4 separate regions of the Homo sapiens genome follow, and all the other regions are linked to region 4. Evidence: promoter capture Hi-C in 16 types of primary human blood cells and fetal thymus (Javierre and others, 2016). All regions are on one chromosome and are shown on one strand. The core of a region is centred on a gene start or on the middle of the fragment in contact, and the rest is flanking DNA. Distances in the headings are between cores, read along the strand shown. Region 1 overlaps RABEP1 (rabaptin, RAB GTPase binding effector protein 1). Region 2 overlaps RABEP1 (rabaptin, RAB GTPase binding effector protein 1). Region 3 overlaps RABEP1 (rabaptin, RAB GTPase binding effector protein 1). Region 4 holds the start of ZFP3 (ZFP3 zinc finger protein).

Region 1 (3,626 bases), core at 1-2,500, 250 kb after region 4:
AATTAGCTGGGCGTGGTGGCACGCGCCTGTAATCCCAGCTACTTGGGAGGCTGAAGCAGGACAATCTGTTGAACCCGGGAGGCAGAGGTTGCAGTGAGCCAAGATCGTGCCACTGCACTCTAGCCTGGGCAACAAGAGCGAGACTCCGTCTCAAAAAAATAAATAAGCATGGCAAATCTTAATACCTTTTGAGTCTTGGTGAAAGCTATATGAAGGATTGTTGTAGTATACCCTCAACTTTTGAATATGTTTGAAAATCTTAATAATTACATATACAGCAGTAAAAGCAATAAACGAATGTTAGAACTCCTACTGTTGGCAAACATAATGTTTGAAATGCTTTACTACAAAAAATTAAGATTTTCTAACTTTATTTTAAATTTCTGTCTCCTGTTTTTTTGTATTTATATATATAAATATAACATTCATATATATGTTCATATATATATATATATATATATATATAACTAAAGTTACTGTTGACCAAGTCTTCCTCCAGGCTCTCTATTTCACTTTTAAGTGCCAAAAATGGATATTTAGGCTTGGTATTTGTTTACAGTTTTTCTGTTCATAATGACAACATGGTAGTGAATAGCTCTGGGTAATCTCCAGCAAATCAAAAGTACCAGAGGTAATTAGCATGAGGACCTGTTAAGTGTATAAACTTGAGCCTTGATAAAATTGTAGTACCCAAAAATGAATAAAGTATCCCAGAAATAATGCTTTTTCTTTTTTCACATTTTATGAAACAGTTTAACACTCAGAATACAGAGTTGACACACATAAACTTTTCCTTTGTGGTTTCACGTGTTTACATCTTTCTGGGTCTGTCTATTTGCATGCCTACCACAACTTCCCAGGTGTCTGTCTTTAAGGGACTTCACACAATTACTTTTTTAATTAATGTTCTTAAAACTGTCTTTGGCTAGAGATTCAAAATATTTTAAGAGTGATGGAAACTGATGTTGAGAGAGTAAAGATTTCAAAACAACTTAGCATGACTAGGTGTTTCCCTCTGTGACTTTGACTACCAAATCATTAACTCCTGTGATAACAATGAACATTTCACAACGTTTAAAAGTTCTCTTATTTTACTATTGGATTTTTATAAGTAGTTAGAAATTTATGCAAGAAAGTATTGCCACTGTCTTCATGAGGAAACTGAGGCTTGAGAATCTTGTGATTTCCTTAAAGTCATACAGCTGGTTAGCGGTAGAATTAGACCTTAAATCAGTTTATTTTCATGGTCAGTTTGGCTCAGTTATTGTGCTTTGGAGAGGAAATTGATACTTTTACAAAGATGAAGAATTTTTTTTTTCATAAATACCTTACAACTTTAGATGCTAAAAGGCGTAAGTTAAGGCCGGGCGCGGTGGCTCACACCTGTAATCCCAACGCTTTGGGAGGCTGAGGCGGGAGGATCATTTCAGCCCAGGAGGCCAAGACCAGCCTGGGCAGCGTAGTGAAACTTTGTCTCTACAAGAAATTTCAAAAATTAGCCGGGCGTGATGGTGCATGCCTGCAGTCCTAGCTACTCAGGAGGCTGAGGTGGGGGGATCGCTTGAGCCCAGGAATTTGAGGTTATAGTGGTCTATGTTTGCGTCACTGCACTCCAGCCTGTGCGACAATTGAGACCCTATCTCTTAACTTTTTTTTTTTTTTTTTTTTTTTTTTTTAAAGAAACACAGCGGCTGACTGGGAAAAGTTTTGTAAGAGAAGACAGACTTAATATCCAGAATATATAAAATGCTCTTACAGATCAGAAGGAAAATCATTCATTAGAAGCAAATGTAAAGAATGTCACCAAAGAGGAAATGAGTCACTAGTACATATATGAGAAGATGCTCAAACTCCTTATTAACAGGGAAAATGTAGATTAAAGTGACCATTTGCTACCCATGATATTTACAAGAATTTTTAAAAGATGGAAAATAGTGACTGTTGTTAAGGGTATGGGAAAACAATCACACATCCCTGTATACTGTTGATAAGTTCATCTTTTTTTTGAAGTTAGTTTGGCCAAACATATGTTCTGCCTGGGCTTAAACCATGTAGTAGGCACATTACATCAACTTAGTATTTAAAAGATGGTAAGAGGGAGCCGAGAAATTAATGCTAACTTTAAAGAACATACGTCTAGTCACTGCCATGTGCTCTGGCTTTCTTTTCTCTTTTATTAAACATTTTTTGAATGTTTGTGGAAGGTAATGTACTAATTAGCGTTTCCAATAAATTATCATTACAACAACCTTGTGAGGTGGCTGTTTTTAACTTCCATTTTGCAGATGTGGAAACTTAGGCCAGAGAGATTAAATAACATGACCAAGTTCATTTAGTCAGCAGACGGGAATGCGTAAATTGAGCTCTAAAACCATGACTGTAACTACTGGATCATTAGATAGATAGTAACAATTGATTTGTGATACCCAGCTTACCTTAAATCTCACCTCTATTAAAAGGGTGTCATTTTGTATGTTTATATTTTAAAATTTAATACCTTATTTCTTTATTGGAATGCCAGTCTGATCAAAGTGAACATTAATGGACTATCTTTTACTTTTCTCTCCAGAGGATCTGAAGAGGCAAAATGCAGTATTACAAGCTGCACAAGATGATTTGGGACACCTTCGAACCCAGCTGTGGGAAGCTCAAGCAGAGATGGAGAATATTAAGGCGATTGCCACAGTCTCTGAGAACACCAAGCAAGAAGCTATAGATGAAGTGAAAAGACAGTGGAGAGAAGAAGTTGCTTCACTTCAGGCTGTTATGAAAGGTAAAGACAGAGAAAGATCAATTTTGTGATTTTCTAAGATATCCGATTCTGATGATTGAGAATATTTTCAGAGAATCTTAAAATATATACAGAGTTTCATTTGTGGTTTTATGTACTGTCATCATCAAGATATACTTTCAGATAAAAGAGAAGTCACTAATAACATAAATGGATATATCAATCGTATCTAACTTAATAATGGAGAGTTATAATAGGGATGTTATAGAGATAATGCATTAAATGAGGACTATAGTTCATTGTAAGGCTTAAAAGTCGATTTCTTCTAGGAGGCAGGCTAGTAATCTCAAATAATTAAGCTGTATGGGCACAGGGAATGTGCTGGAGTAGAGAGAGCTGCCATGCAAAGGGTAAAGTAACTGTTTACATTGATGAGCTTCAGCTAATTATTGCCCTTCCAGTGTAGTTTGGCCATACGTTTTAGAATTTTTTTTTTTTTTTTTTTTTGAGATGGAATCTCGCTCTGTTGTCCAGCTTGGAGTGCAGTGGCGCAGTCTCAGCTCACTGTACTCGCTGCAACCTCTGCCTCCCGGGCTCAAGCGATTCTCCTGCCTCAGCCTCCCGAGTAGCTGGGATTACAAGCATGTGCCACCACGCCCAGCTAATTTTGTATTTTTAGTAGAGACGGGATTTCGCCATGTTGGTCAGGCTGGTCTTGAACTCCTGAGACCTCAGGTGATCCACCTGCCTCGGCCTCCCAAAGTCCTGGGATTACATGTGTGAGCCACAGCGCCTGGCCTGGTTTAGATTTTTTAAGAAACTTTGTATGTGAAATCTTCACTGCACTCTGTTGGGTAGAATGGCCTATGGGCTAAGGTAGGCTTCATGGGCTGCC
Region 2 (3,630 bases), core at 170-2,669, 210 kb after region 4:
TGCTGGGATTACAGGCGAGGTGGCTCATGCCTAGAATTGTGCCTGACAAACAGTATACAGGCTCACGCCTGTAATCCCAGCACTTTGGGAGTCTGAGGCAGGTGGATCACCTGAGGTCAGGAGTTCCAGACCAGCCTGGCCAACATGGTGAAACCCAATCTCTACTAAAAATACAAAAATTAGTCAGACATGGTGGCACGCGCCTGTAATCCCAGCTACTTGGGAGGCTGAGGCAGGAGAATTGCTTGAACCTGGGAGGTGGAGGTTGCAGTGGGCGAAGATCATGCCACCGTGCTCCAGCCTGGGCAACAGAGTGAGACTCTGTCGCAAAAAAAAAAAAAAAAAAAAAAAAACCCAAAACACTGAGCGGGCGTGGTGTTGTCTCATACCTGTAATCTCAACACTTTGGGAGGCCTAGGTGGGTGGATTGCTTGAGCCCAGGAGTTTGAGACCAGCCTGGGCAATATGGCAAAACCGCATCTCTACAAAAAATTAGCCGGGTGTGATGGCCTGTGCCTCTAGTCCCAGCTACTCAGGAGGCTGAGGTGGGAGGATCACCTAAGCCTGGGAGGTCGAGGCTGCAGTGAGCTGTGATCTTGCTACTTCACTCCCACCTAGGTGACAGAGTAAGACCCTGTCTCAAAAAAAAAATCACTCTGACTGCTGGATTGGCAGTGGAGTAATAGGGAGGTATGAATCCAGAAAAAAGATGTTGAAGCTTGGACCAGGATGGAGGTTATATTTTGAAAGTATGGCCAACAGGATTTGCTGACGGATTGAATATGGGATGCAAAAGAAACTGAGTAGTCAAGGATTACTCAAAGGTGTTTGGCCTGAGCAACTAGATGAACACAATGCTATGAATGCCTATAACTGACTTATTTGACCAATATACAGAGGTCAGTAAAGGCTTTTGATGAAGTAGTCCTGGAGCCGAGATCTGATGGATGAGCAGGACTCCTGGTTTTGGAGGATGCAGAACGAGTAACATAACTGAAGAAAGGTCACTGTGCCTGGGTAGAGGAGTAGGTATGGGCTGGCCTGAGGGGTCTTTTTCCTTAGAGGTGTACGGGAACCCACTGAAGGGTTTTAAGCAGGTAGATGATGTGTGGCTTTTTATTTTATTTTATTTATTTATTTTTTGAGATGGAATCTCGCTCAGTCGCCCAGGCTAGAGTGCAGTGGCACTATCTCGGCTCACTGGAACCTCTACCTCCCAGGTTCAAGTGATTCTCCTGCCTCAGCCTCCCAAGTAGCTGGGATTACAGGCATGTGCTGCCATGCTCGGCTAATTTTATATTTTTAGTAGAGATGAGGTTTCGCCATGTTCGTCAGGCTGGCCTCTAACTCCTGACCTCAGATGATGCATCCGCCTTGGCCTCCCAAAGTGCTGGGATTACAGGCGTGAGCCACTGCGCCTGGCCTATTTTATTTCTTTTCTTTATTTTTTTGAGACCAAGTCTTGCTGTGTTGCCCAGGCTGGAGTGCAGTGGTGTGATCTCTGCTCACTGTAACCTCTGCCTCCCAGGTTCAGGCGATTCTCGTGCCTCAGCCCCTCAAGTAGCTGGGATTACAGGCGTGCACCACTACACCTGGCTCATTTTTTTGTATATTTAGTAGAGACAGGGTTTCACCATGTTGGCCGGGCTGGTCTTGATCTCCTGTTCTCAATTTATCCACCCTCCTTGGCCTCCCAAAGTGCTGGGATTATAGGAGTGAGCCACTGTGCCTGGTTGAAGTGTGGCTTTTTAATTTGCACTTCCAGGATAGGAATTATATTAATTATGGCCTCTTTGTTTATTGGCTGGCTGGCTTGCTTCCTTCCTTTCATCCATTTTTTTCTTTCTTTCATTTTTTTCTTTTTTTGCTTGCCCTCCCTTCCTCCCTCCCTTTCTTCTTCTTCTTCCTCTTCCTTTTCTCTTCTACTATGAGTTGCTGTTTCACATCTTTCTTTTGTGGCTTGTCTGTTTATATCTGTTTCCCATTTTTCCATTGGGTTGTCCTTTTCTCAGTAATTTGGAGGAGCTCTTTGTAAATTATATTAGCCCTTTGGTATGTGTTGCAAATTTTGGTCTCACAGTTTGTCATTTACCTCGTTTTAAAAATTTTTTGTTATGCAGAAAGCTTTAATTTTTATGTAGATCTGACCTTTTTTTTTTTTTTTTAAATTTATGGTTTCTGGGTTTCTTATTTTGCTGAGGAAGACCTCCCCAACTCTCATGTTTATTTAAAGAGAAAAAACCTTATCATTTTCAACACTTGTGGTTTTTTATATTTTGTAGTCCAATCCATTTGCAATTTATTTATTTTTAAATTAGAGAAGTTTAATATAAAGAATTATTAACTAAACTGGAGATCACCCACTAAGACAAAAGAAAACCCTAAAGAATACAAGACTAGTAGACATAAGGAACAGTCTCGCTTCCAGGGCTGAGGCAGAGCACCCTTTATTTTTTTTTCTGAATAGATAGATAGTTGTCTTAACGTTTATTCAATAGTTCATGTTTTTGTTTGTAAATTATAACTTGGTAAATCTCCCAACCTTTGAACTAGCAGAGATACTTAATCTGAAAAACAAAAGCCCTGCACTTATCCACTGTCTTTGTCACTCTGATATCCCAACACACAGTAGCCTGGAATTAGGTAATGGCCTTTAATTTTCATGTCTTACCTGGCTTTCTGTGGAGAGAATTGCTTTTGAATCTTAAGGGCTCTAATTTCTAAAATATCTCCATTTATCATATGCTAGGTTTTTATCCACTGAAGTTTGATGTTCTCTTCTTATGTAGTCATTAATTTGAATATTGTCTTTATAGAAGTATTTATTTATTTTTTGAGATGGAGTCTCGCTCTGTCGCCCAGGCTAGAGTGCAGTGGCACGATCTCAGCTCACTGCAAGCTCCGCCTCCTGGGTTCACGCCATTCTCCTGCCTCAGCCTCCCAAGTAGTTGGGACTACAGGCGCCCGCCACCACACCCGGCTAATTTTTTTGTATTTTTAGTAGAGACGGGGTTTCACCGTGTTAGCCAGGATGGTCTCGCTCTCCTGACCTCGTGATCCACTCGCCTTGGCCTCCCAAAATGCTGGGATTACAGGCGTGAGCCACCGCGCCCGTCCTCCTTGATTATTCTTAAGTATTTATTCATTCAGAAAAAATTTGGAATGAGTACGTTAAGTGCACCCACTGTGCTTCCCTCTCTTGTTTAAAAAAAGGACTTAAAAAATATCTGTTGCGTTTATAAGCTTAAGAGAGCATATATCATTAACATCTTTACAATTAAGATAAATTAATGCATTAAGTGCATGTTAATTTAAATAATAATATTTATTATTATTTTTTGAGATAGAGTCTTTCTCTGTTGCCCATGCTAAAATGCAGTGCCGCTATCTTAGCTGACTGCAACCTTGGCCTCCCGGGTTCAAGTGATCCTTTCATCTCAGCCTTTGGAGTAGCTGGAATTACTCCGTGCTCATGACCCAGCCTGACTAATTTTTTTCTAGTTTTAGTAGAGAGTGGGTTTCAACATGTTGCCCAGGCTGGTGCTGAACTCCTGGCCTCAAATGATCTGCCCACCTCGGCCTACAAAGTGCTGGGATTACAGGTGTGTGCCACCAGACTTGGATGCATTA
Region 3 (3,674 bases), core at 1,098-3,597, 230 kb after region 4:
GGGTGGATCATTTGAGGTCAAGAGTTAGAGACCAGCCTGACCAACATGTGAAACCCCGTCTCTACTAAAAATACAAAAATTAGCCAGGCGTGGTGGCACATGCCTGTAGTCCCAGCTAACTGGGAGGCTGAGGCAGGAGAATTGCTTGAACCTGGGAGGCAGAATTTGCGGTGAGCCGAGATCGCCCCACTGCACTGTAGCCTGGGCAACAGAGGGAGACTCCGTCTCAAAAGCATATGGAAGAAATTAATGAGCCATAATTCTGTTACTCATAGATAAATCATTGGTACATTTTTTCCAGTCTTTTTTTCTATACATTTTAAAATCAGCTCTCAATTAAATTGAGTGATTGGGAGAGGGGATAGCCTTCAAAGATAATCTCAGATCTTGATTAAAATTCTAGGCAAATCATCATTATCTGGAGTGACTTGCAGTAGGAAACTTGGCCCTCTGCTGGCCTAAGTAGTTAGTGGTTGATTAGTACTAACCGATATCCCCTAAAGGGATTATGGTCATAGCTTTAAGGCTGGGATGCTGTTGGGGCAAAAGGGGAGATCAGGGGTTTGCACAGCTGGACCTCCTATCTTATGCTTCAATCAAAGGAACCCCTGGGTTTGGTCAGGGAAGGCAATCATTTAACCAGCTGTGTCCAAATTATAGAGTCCATAAAGTAAAAAGTCTGCTAATCTCCGCACACCATGATCAATGTTGAAAACATGGAAGAAAACCAGATTATCTCCCAGTAATTGAGAGTTTATATAGAATGTGCAGTTCTGTATCCTCTCTATGAATGGGTTTTTGATTATGATCTCAGTATAATGGTAATGGATCATTTTGAAGTTGGAAGAATAGTTCAGTCTGGTATGGCTACACTAGTTAGGGAACCTATTAGATTTTGCTTGTGACACTTGAGAGAAATGGGAAATAGCAAGATTGGCAGTAGGTTCATTTGTGGGATAAGTAGTTCAAATAATCCAATATTTAACAGTTCTAAAATTAAATTGCTATTCAGTTGCACAAAGGCACTTTAGAAGCTCTTTTTTTTGTGGGGAAGTTGGCCTTATGTGATTCTCTGTATATTTGTGGTTTCACTTTACATGACTCATTTACAGTTGTGTATTAAGTCTAATACAAGGATCTTTTTTTTTTTTTTTGAGACAGAGTCTCACTCTGTCACCCAGGCTAGAGTGCAGTGGTGCGATCTCGGCCCACTGCAACCTCCGCCTCCCGGGTTCAAGCGATTCTCCTGCCTCAGCCTCCTGAGTAGCTGGGATTACAGGCACCTGCCACTACACCTGGCTAATTTTTGTATTTTTAATAGAGATGGGATTTCTCCATGTCGGCCAGGCTGGTCTCGAACTCCTGACCTCGGGTGATCCGCCCGCCTCGGCCTCCCAAAGTGCTGGGATTACAGGCGTGAGCCACCATGCCTGGTCTGTCTTACTTTTTTTAAACATTAGAATATCCTAGCATATGGTGGATTTTTGGAAGAAGCTTGACTACTTGTTTCACGTATAGCAATGTACAGCTAGAATACTAATTTACTGTTTTATAAATTTATGAATAAAAGTTATTACTTGTTAACTAGTGTTTTTTTCCCCCAGTTTCTCTTCAGCAACGGGTAGCAGAATTGGAAAAAATTAATGCAGAATTTTTACGTGCACAACAGCAGCTTGAACAAGAATTTAATCAAAAGAGAGCAAAATTTAAGGAGTTATATTTGGCTAAAGAGGGTAAGTTCATAAGTCTCGCACCAACTTCAATGCGAAAACTGCCTTAAAGTGTTGAGTTTCTTGGTAGTAGTGTTAATTTTATCATTGAATAAACCTTGATTTTATTTGTACTTGCATAATAAAAGAATACTGTTTAAAGGCTAGGTTAAGAATGGGATTGAAAAACAAGTTGAAAAATGCCTTCTTCAGATTTTGCCTTGTTTTTTGATCTTACTGTTCATATTTAGGTTGCATAGCCTTGAGATAAGAGAATGTTATTGCTCTTAACATTTGGGATACAGTTGTGGGCAAACTAGGATTGTTGGCATTCTAATAACAGCTTTAGCTATGTTATCTTTAATTCCATGAAACATCAGTTTTACCCAACAAATATTCAGTTATTTATCAATAAATATTTATTTAATATCTACTATGAGGCAGACATTATACTTGTGTTGGGTATACAGAAAGAGGAAAATTCATGTGGTTCTTTAACTTGGTTGAACTCAATGAGCAAAACAGATGTTAAGTAATTGTGTGATGAGTCGTTAAAACAGGAAATTGCAGGCTGGGCGCGGTGGCTCACACCTGTAATCCCAGCACTTTGGGAGGCCAACGGGCGGGGGCGGATCACCTGAGGTCGGGAGTTCAAGTCCAGCCTGGCCAACATGGAGAAACCCTGTCTGTACTAAAAATACAAAATTAGCTGGGCATGGTGGCGCATGCCTGTAATCCCAGCTGCTCGGGAGGCTGAGGCAGAAGAATTGCTTGAACCCAGGAGGCAGACGTTGAGGTGAGCTGAGATTGCGCCATTGCACTCCAGCGTGGGCGACAAGAGTGAAACTCCCATCTCAAAAAAAAAAAAAAAAGAAAAAGAAACTGTATAAGGAAAATACATGAGAGAACATGTTGGGGGACCTGATTTGAAGGATCAGGGAAGGGGCTTACCTTCTGAGTATCGACCTAGAATAATGTGAATGTAGTTTCCACAGCTCTCTAGACCAGTGATTCTCAAAGTGTGATTGTGGAACAGCATCATTATCGTCATCATCACCTGGGAAAGTTGTTAGAAATGCAAATGTTTGGGTCCCACCCAGATTTACTGAGTTAGAAACTGTGGGATTTGGGTCCAGCTGCACACTAAATTTTGAAAACTGCTCTAGTCTATAATAGAATAGTGGCTCTCAAATTCAAATGTGGATAAAAATCACCTGGAGAGCTTGTTAAACCACAGTATGTTTGGGTGGAGCCCAGAAATTTGCATTTCTAATAAGCTCATAGATGATTCCAGTTACTGCTAGTTCAAGTACTACAGTTTGAAAAATCCTGTTCTGGACTAGTGATCATGCACCTTTTTTAACTTATGAACTCTGTAAAATATATACTTACATACAACCTTCATACATGTTAAAGTTGATGTTTAAAATTTTTTGCTTGAAAAGATGTGAAGGATAAAATTTTATATTGTTGATATTTACAATTTAAATGAAAGCTTCGTCCTTTTTTTTTTTTTTTTTTGAGATGGGAGTCTCCCCCGACATCTTCCCCTGTCACGCAGGCTGGAGTTCAGTGGCACTATCTCAGCTCACTACAACCTCCGCCTCCCATATTCAAGTGATTCTCCTGCCCTGCCCCAGCCTCCCGAGTAGCTGGGATTACAGGTGTGTGCCACCATGCCCGGCTAATTTTTGTATTTTTAGTAGAGACGGGGTTTCACCATGTTGGTCAGGCTGGTCTCAAACTCCTGACCTTGTGATCCGCCCGCTTCGGCCTCCCAAAGTGCTGGGTGAGCCACCACGCCTGGCCAACTTCCTGCTTTTAAACATATCCAGTGGAATGAAAATATCAGTGATTTATCCATTGTTATCTGTTTAACAAACACATGAATAGCTTTATAGCCGAAATTTTACAGTGGTTTTCCTCCTTGCGTTGGGTTTTCTTCTTTACATCTCCTTTAGAATT
Region 4 (3,649 bases), core at 228-2,727:
CCAAACAGGGCTAATCATAGTCCTTTGTAACTGATATTTGGGAAGGATAGTGTACTCTGAGGCAACATTATATAGAATGAAAGTCTTCAATGTGGTGATCTTGGAACTGACACCTAAAAACAAACTGGCTGGCTGGACGCGGTAGCTCACGCCTGTAATCCCAGCACTTTGGGAGGCCAAGGTGGGCCTAAGGTCTGACCTAAGGTCAGAAGTTCGAGACCAGCCTGACCAACATGGTGAAACCCCGTCTCTACTAAAAATACAAAAATTAGCCGGGCGTGGTGGCTGGCACTTGTAATCCCAGCTACTCTGGAGGCTGAGGCTGGAGAATCGCTTGAACCCGGGAGGTGGAGGTTGCAGTGAGCAGAGATCGTGCCATTGCACTCCAGCCTTGGCGACAAGAGCGAAACTCCGCCTCAAAAAACAAACAAAAACAAGCTGGAGGCCGGGCGCGGTGGCTCATGTCTGTAATCCCAGCACTTTGGGAGGCCGAGGCGGCCGGATCACCTGAGGTCGGGAGTTCGAGACCAGCCTGACCAAAATGGAGAAAACCCGTCTCTACCTAAAATACAAAATTAGCCGGGCGTGGTGGCACATGCTTGTAATCCCAGTTACTCGGGGAGGCTGAAGTAGGAGAATCGCTTGAATCCGGGAGGCGGAGGTTGCGGTGAGCGGAGATGGCGCCATCGCACTCCAGCCTGGACAACAAGAGCGAAACTCCATCTCAAAAAACAAACAAACAAGAAAACAAGCTGGCTGTGCAAAATTACAGAGGAAGTAACAAGGAAAGGTTCTGAGGTGAGAATGGGCCAAGCTTGCTCAGGGAACCCAGGAAGGCTAGCTGCAGAATGCTGTTTCCGTGGCCTCGGCAGCTTAACCTAGGCCTTTACTCTTAACCTTGGTAATTCCCACGCAATCTTGAGATTTCAGGCCAAACGTCACTCCTGCAAGCCCTTCCGGAACTCAAAGCATGTCTCCCTTCGCTCCCGCCGAGGAGAGACCTGTTCCCAGGATCTGCAGCCCTGTGCTTATCAGACCCACGGAGTCTGTGGAAAGGAAGGATGGGATAAGAACGATGCGGGTTGGGAGAGTTAAAAGGGTCGCGCAAACGGTCCCCGCGGGAATGCGAAGCGGATTCTCGAGTTCTTGAGCCTAGAGCAATGCTTGGGGAGCGACACGAGGGCGCAGAGCGGCAGATCGCGGAGCGGAAGTTCATCCCCGGAGCCGTTCTAGGAAACCCGGAGGACTCAGGTCGTCAATGATTCCGGGGCTGAAGTGGGCATCGACGGGTGCACTTTGCTGTTCCAGGGAGCCGGCTCGGCAGGCGGCGGCGACGTGGAACTTGGGCTAGGGCTAGAACCGGCGAAAAGCAAGCCGGAAAAGGCAAGGGGGCGTCGGTGCGCTGACCACCTGTTCCTCCAGCGGAGTGCGACGCGCGCCGATTGGCTGGAGTGCCGCCCGGGTACCGGAAGTGGCCGATGCCCGTCGCCAGTGACACCGGGACAACAGCTGCGGGCTCTGTGCGAGCGGCCCAGCAGCGCGGAGCCTCAGCGGAGTGAGCGAGCGCGGGGCAGTAGCGGCCTGCGGTGAGACCTCATTCCGTCGCGGCTGTGGGGGTAGGCGGGGGCTGGGCTCCCAGCTCCCTAGAGAGCCGAGCGGAAACCCTACGTTTAGGCCCGTTCTGACCGGGGTTCGCTGTGTGACCTTGAAGTTTATGCCTCCCTCCATTCCCCCCGCCCCCAGGCCTTCATTTCCACCTGCACACAGAGAGGGTGGGGCCTGGACACCGCCAGGGACAGTCCCAGCTCTGGTTTGGTGCCTGTCAGCCGTGGGGGTGGGAGAAGCAGGGACACTCCCTTCTGTACCGAGGTGGGGACCCGTGGGAGCTGTGGTTTTCTCAGACATTCCACCCCCAAGTAAACCGCTAGGACGAAATGGCGGGCAGTGTCACAAACTTAACGCCCTAGTGGCAGATTGTGCCCTGTGCTGCCAGACAAGATATTGGCTTATGAGGGGTGGTCGTGAAAAGGAGACAGGTTTGAGCTGCAAAGATAGAGCCCTATTGTGGGTCAGAGGGAGAAGAGAGGAAAGGAGGTTAACAGTGCCATAAATTAAATATCACCCAGATTGGGAAAAGGAACTTATTTTTACAAACAGTTATCGACACCAGCTATGTGTCAGACACTATCCTAGGCTCTTTAGATATAATGATGAATGAAATATCCAGTTAGCCATCAAGAGTATTACAGAGGCTGGGTGCAGTGGCTCATGCCTGTAATCCCAGCATTTTGGGAGGCCTAGGCGGGAGGATCACTTGAGCACAGGAGTTCAAGACCAGCCTGGGCAACATAGTGAGACACCATCTGTACAAAAAACAAAGAAATTAGTTGGGTAGTTGGGTGTGGTGGCGCATGCTTGTAGTCCCAGCTACTTGGGAGGCTGAGGTGGGAGGATTTTCTTGAGCCTGGGAAGTTGAAGCTGCAGTGAGTCTGGGCAATAGAGCCAAGACCCTGTCTCAGAAAAAAGGGAGGTATTGCAGATTCATTATATATATAAGACAGTTACACAAATTCACTTAACATTTACCAGGTATCTGAAATATGCTAGGTACTCAGAATACCAGGATGAATGGAACAGCATCCTTGCTTATGGTCTAGAGAAGAAAATAGGTATGAAAAATTAATAATGCAGTGGGGTAGCTGCTACAAGGTGAAGGAGTAGCTGTCTGCCTTAGAGCCTGGGGGTCAGGGAAGAAAATGGAGGGGGTCAGCTGGGCGTGATGGCTCATGCCTGTAATCCCAGCACTTTGGGAGGCAAAGGTGGGCGGATCACCTGAGGTCAGGAGCTCGAGACCAGCCTGGCCAACATGGTGAAACCCTGTCTCTACTAGAAATACAAAATTAGCCAGGCGTGGTGGCAGATGCCTGTAATACCAGCTGCTTGGGAGGCTGAGGTGGGAGAATCGCCTGAGCCTGGGAGGCGGAGGTTGCGGTGAGCCAAGATTGCGCCATTGCACTCCAGCCTGGGAGACAGAGCGAGGCTCCATCTCCAAAGAAAAAAAAAAAAATAGGTATCGTGGTTTCAGGACTGATTAATCCAGTGGCCCTGGCAGCATCTCCCTTGTTTTTCTGAGCTTTAGCTGCCCTCATCCACAGGCTGGTAGTGAGATGGCAGCAGCAGGTACAGGCAATAATATATGGAAGTATTTTCCTATGGTTCTCTCAGGATGGCAGGAAACTATTCCCAGAAGCTCCCAGCAAACGTCCTCAAAATATTGACCCAGATGAAGGTGGATGTCCATTTCCAAACCAGGAATTCCCGAATCCTTGCTGTTTCTGAACCAGTGCCTTGCAAGAATTAGGGCATTTATTTGACTGGGTTAACTCAGTTGGAGTGTCCTGCTGGAGCTCTTGGATGAGGTTAGATCTCTGGCAAGGAAAGCAAAGCCACTGCAAATATTTTTGCTCACATACCCCGTAAAATAATTTTGGAAGGTTTGTGTCTCTTTATACATTTGCAAGTTGACATCCAAAACATTTCCATTTCTCATCATAAATTTTAATGAGTTTCAAAGGATATTATTTTTGAGGTATTAAAATTTCGACATTTCAAAATAAAACCTCATCCCAGTTTCCCAGATACCTTCCCT

What was found. The method cuts DNA at HindIII sites, captures the fragments that hold promoters and counts their contacts. A CHiCAGO score of 5 or more calls a contact.
Region 1: a fragment that was not itself captured here is called in contact with the fragment with the promoter of ZFP3 in region 4 in 2 of 17 cell types (naive B cells and total B cells); the score reaches 5.5 in naive B cells.
Region 2: a contact is called between a fragment that was not itself captured here and the fragment with the promoter of ZFP3 in region 4, in 1 of 17 cell types (total B cells). The highest score is 5.4, in total B cells.
Region 3: a fragment that was not itself captured here is called in contact with the fragment with the promoter of ZFP3 in region 4 in 2 of 17 cell types (naive B cells and total B cells); the score reaches 8.3 in naive B cells.

Annotation. Positions count from the first base shown.
Region 1 is chr17:5,329,380-5,333,005 of GRCh38, forward strand. It overlaps RABEP1 (rabaptin, RAB GTPase binding effector protein 1), which reads left to right. Exons shown (of 18, transcript NM_004703.6): 3 at 2,570-2,773. Among named protein-coding and RNA genes, the nearest start is that of RABEP1, 49 kb to the left of the region's middle. The HindIII fragment of the contact is 8,927 bases long and covers 1-3,626 here.
Region 2 is chr17:5,287,271-5,290,900 of GRCh38, forward strand. The region is part of intron 1 of RABEP1 (rabaptin, RAB GTPase binding effector protein 1); the gene reads left to right. Among named protein-coding and RNA genes, the nearest start is that of RABEP1, 6.8 kb to the left of the region's middle. The HindIII fragment of the contact is 1,406 bases long and covers 717-2,122 here.
Region 3 is chr17:5,307,090-5,310,763 of GRCh38, forward strand. It overlaps RABEP1 (rabaptin, RAB GTPase binding effector protein 1), which reads left to right. Exons shown (of 18, transcript NM_004703.6): 2 at 1,605-1,733. Among named protein-coding and RNA genes, the nearest start is that of RABEP1, 27 kb to the left of the region's middle. The HindIII fragment of the contact is 1,710 bases long and covers 1,493-3,202 here.
Region 4 is chr17:5,076,990-5,080,638 of GRCh38, forward strand. It overlaps ZFP3 (ZFP3 zinc finger protein), which reads left to right and starts at 1,478. Exons shown (of 2, transcript NM_153018.3): 1 at 1,478-1,586. ZFP3-DT (ZFP3 divergent transcript) reads right to left here and starts at 1,124. Exons shown (of 2, transcript NR_186458.1): 1 at 898-1,124. RefSeq lists enhancers at 946-1,817, 1,185-1,254. The HindIII fragment of the contact is 11,376 bases long and covers 813-3,649 here.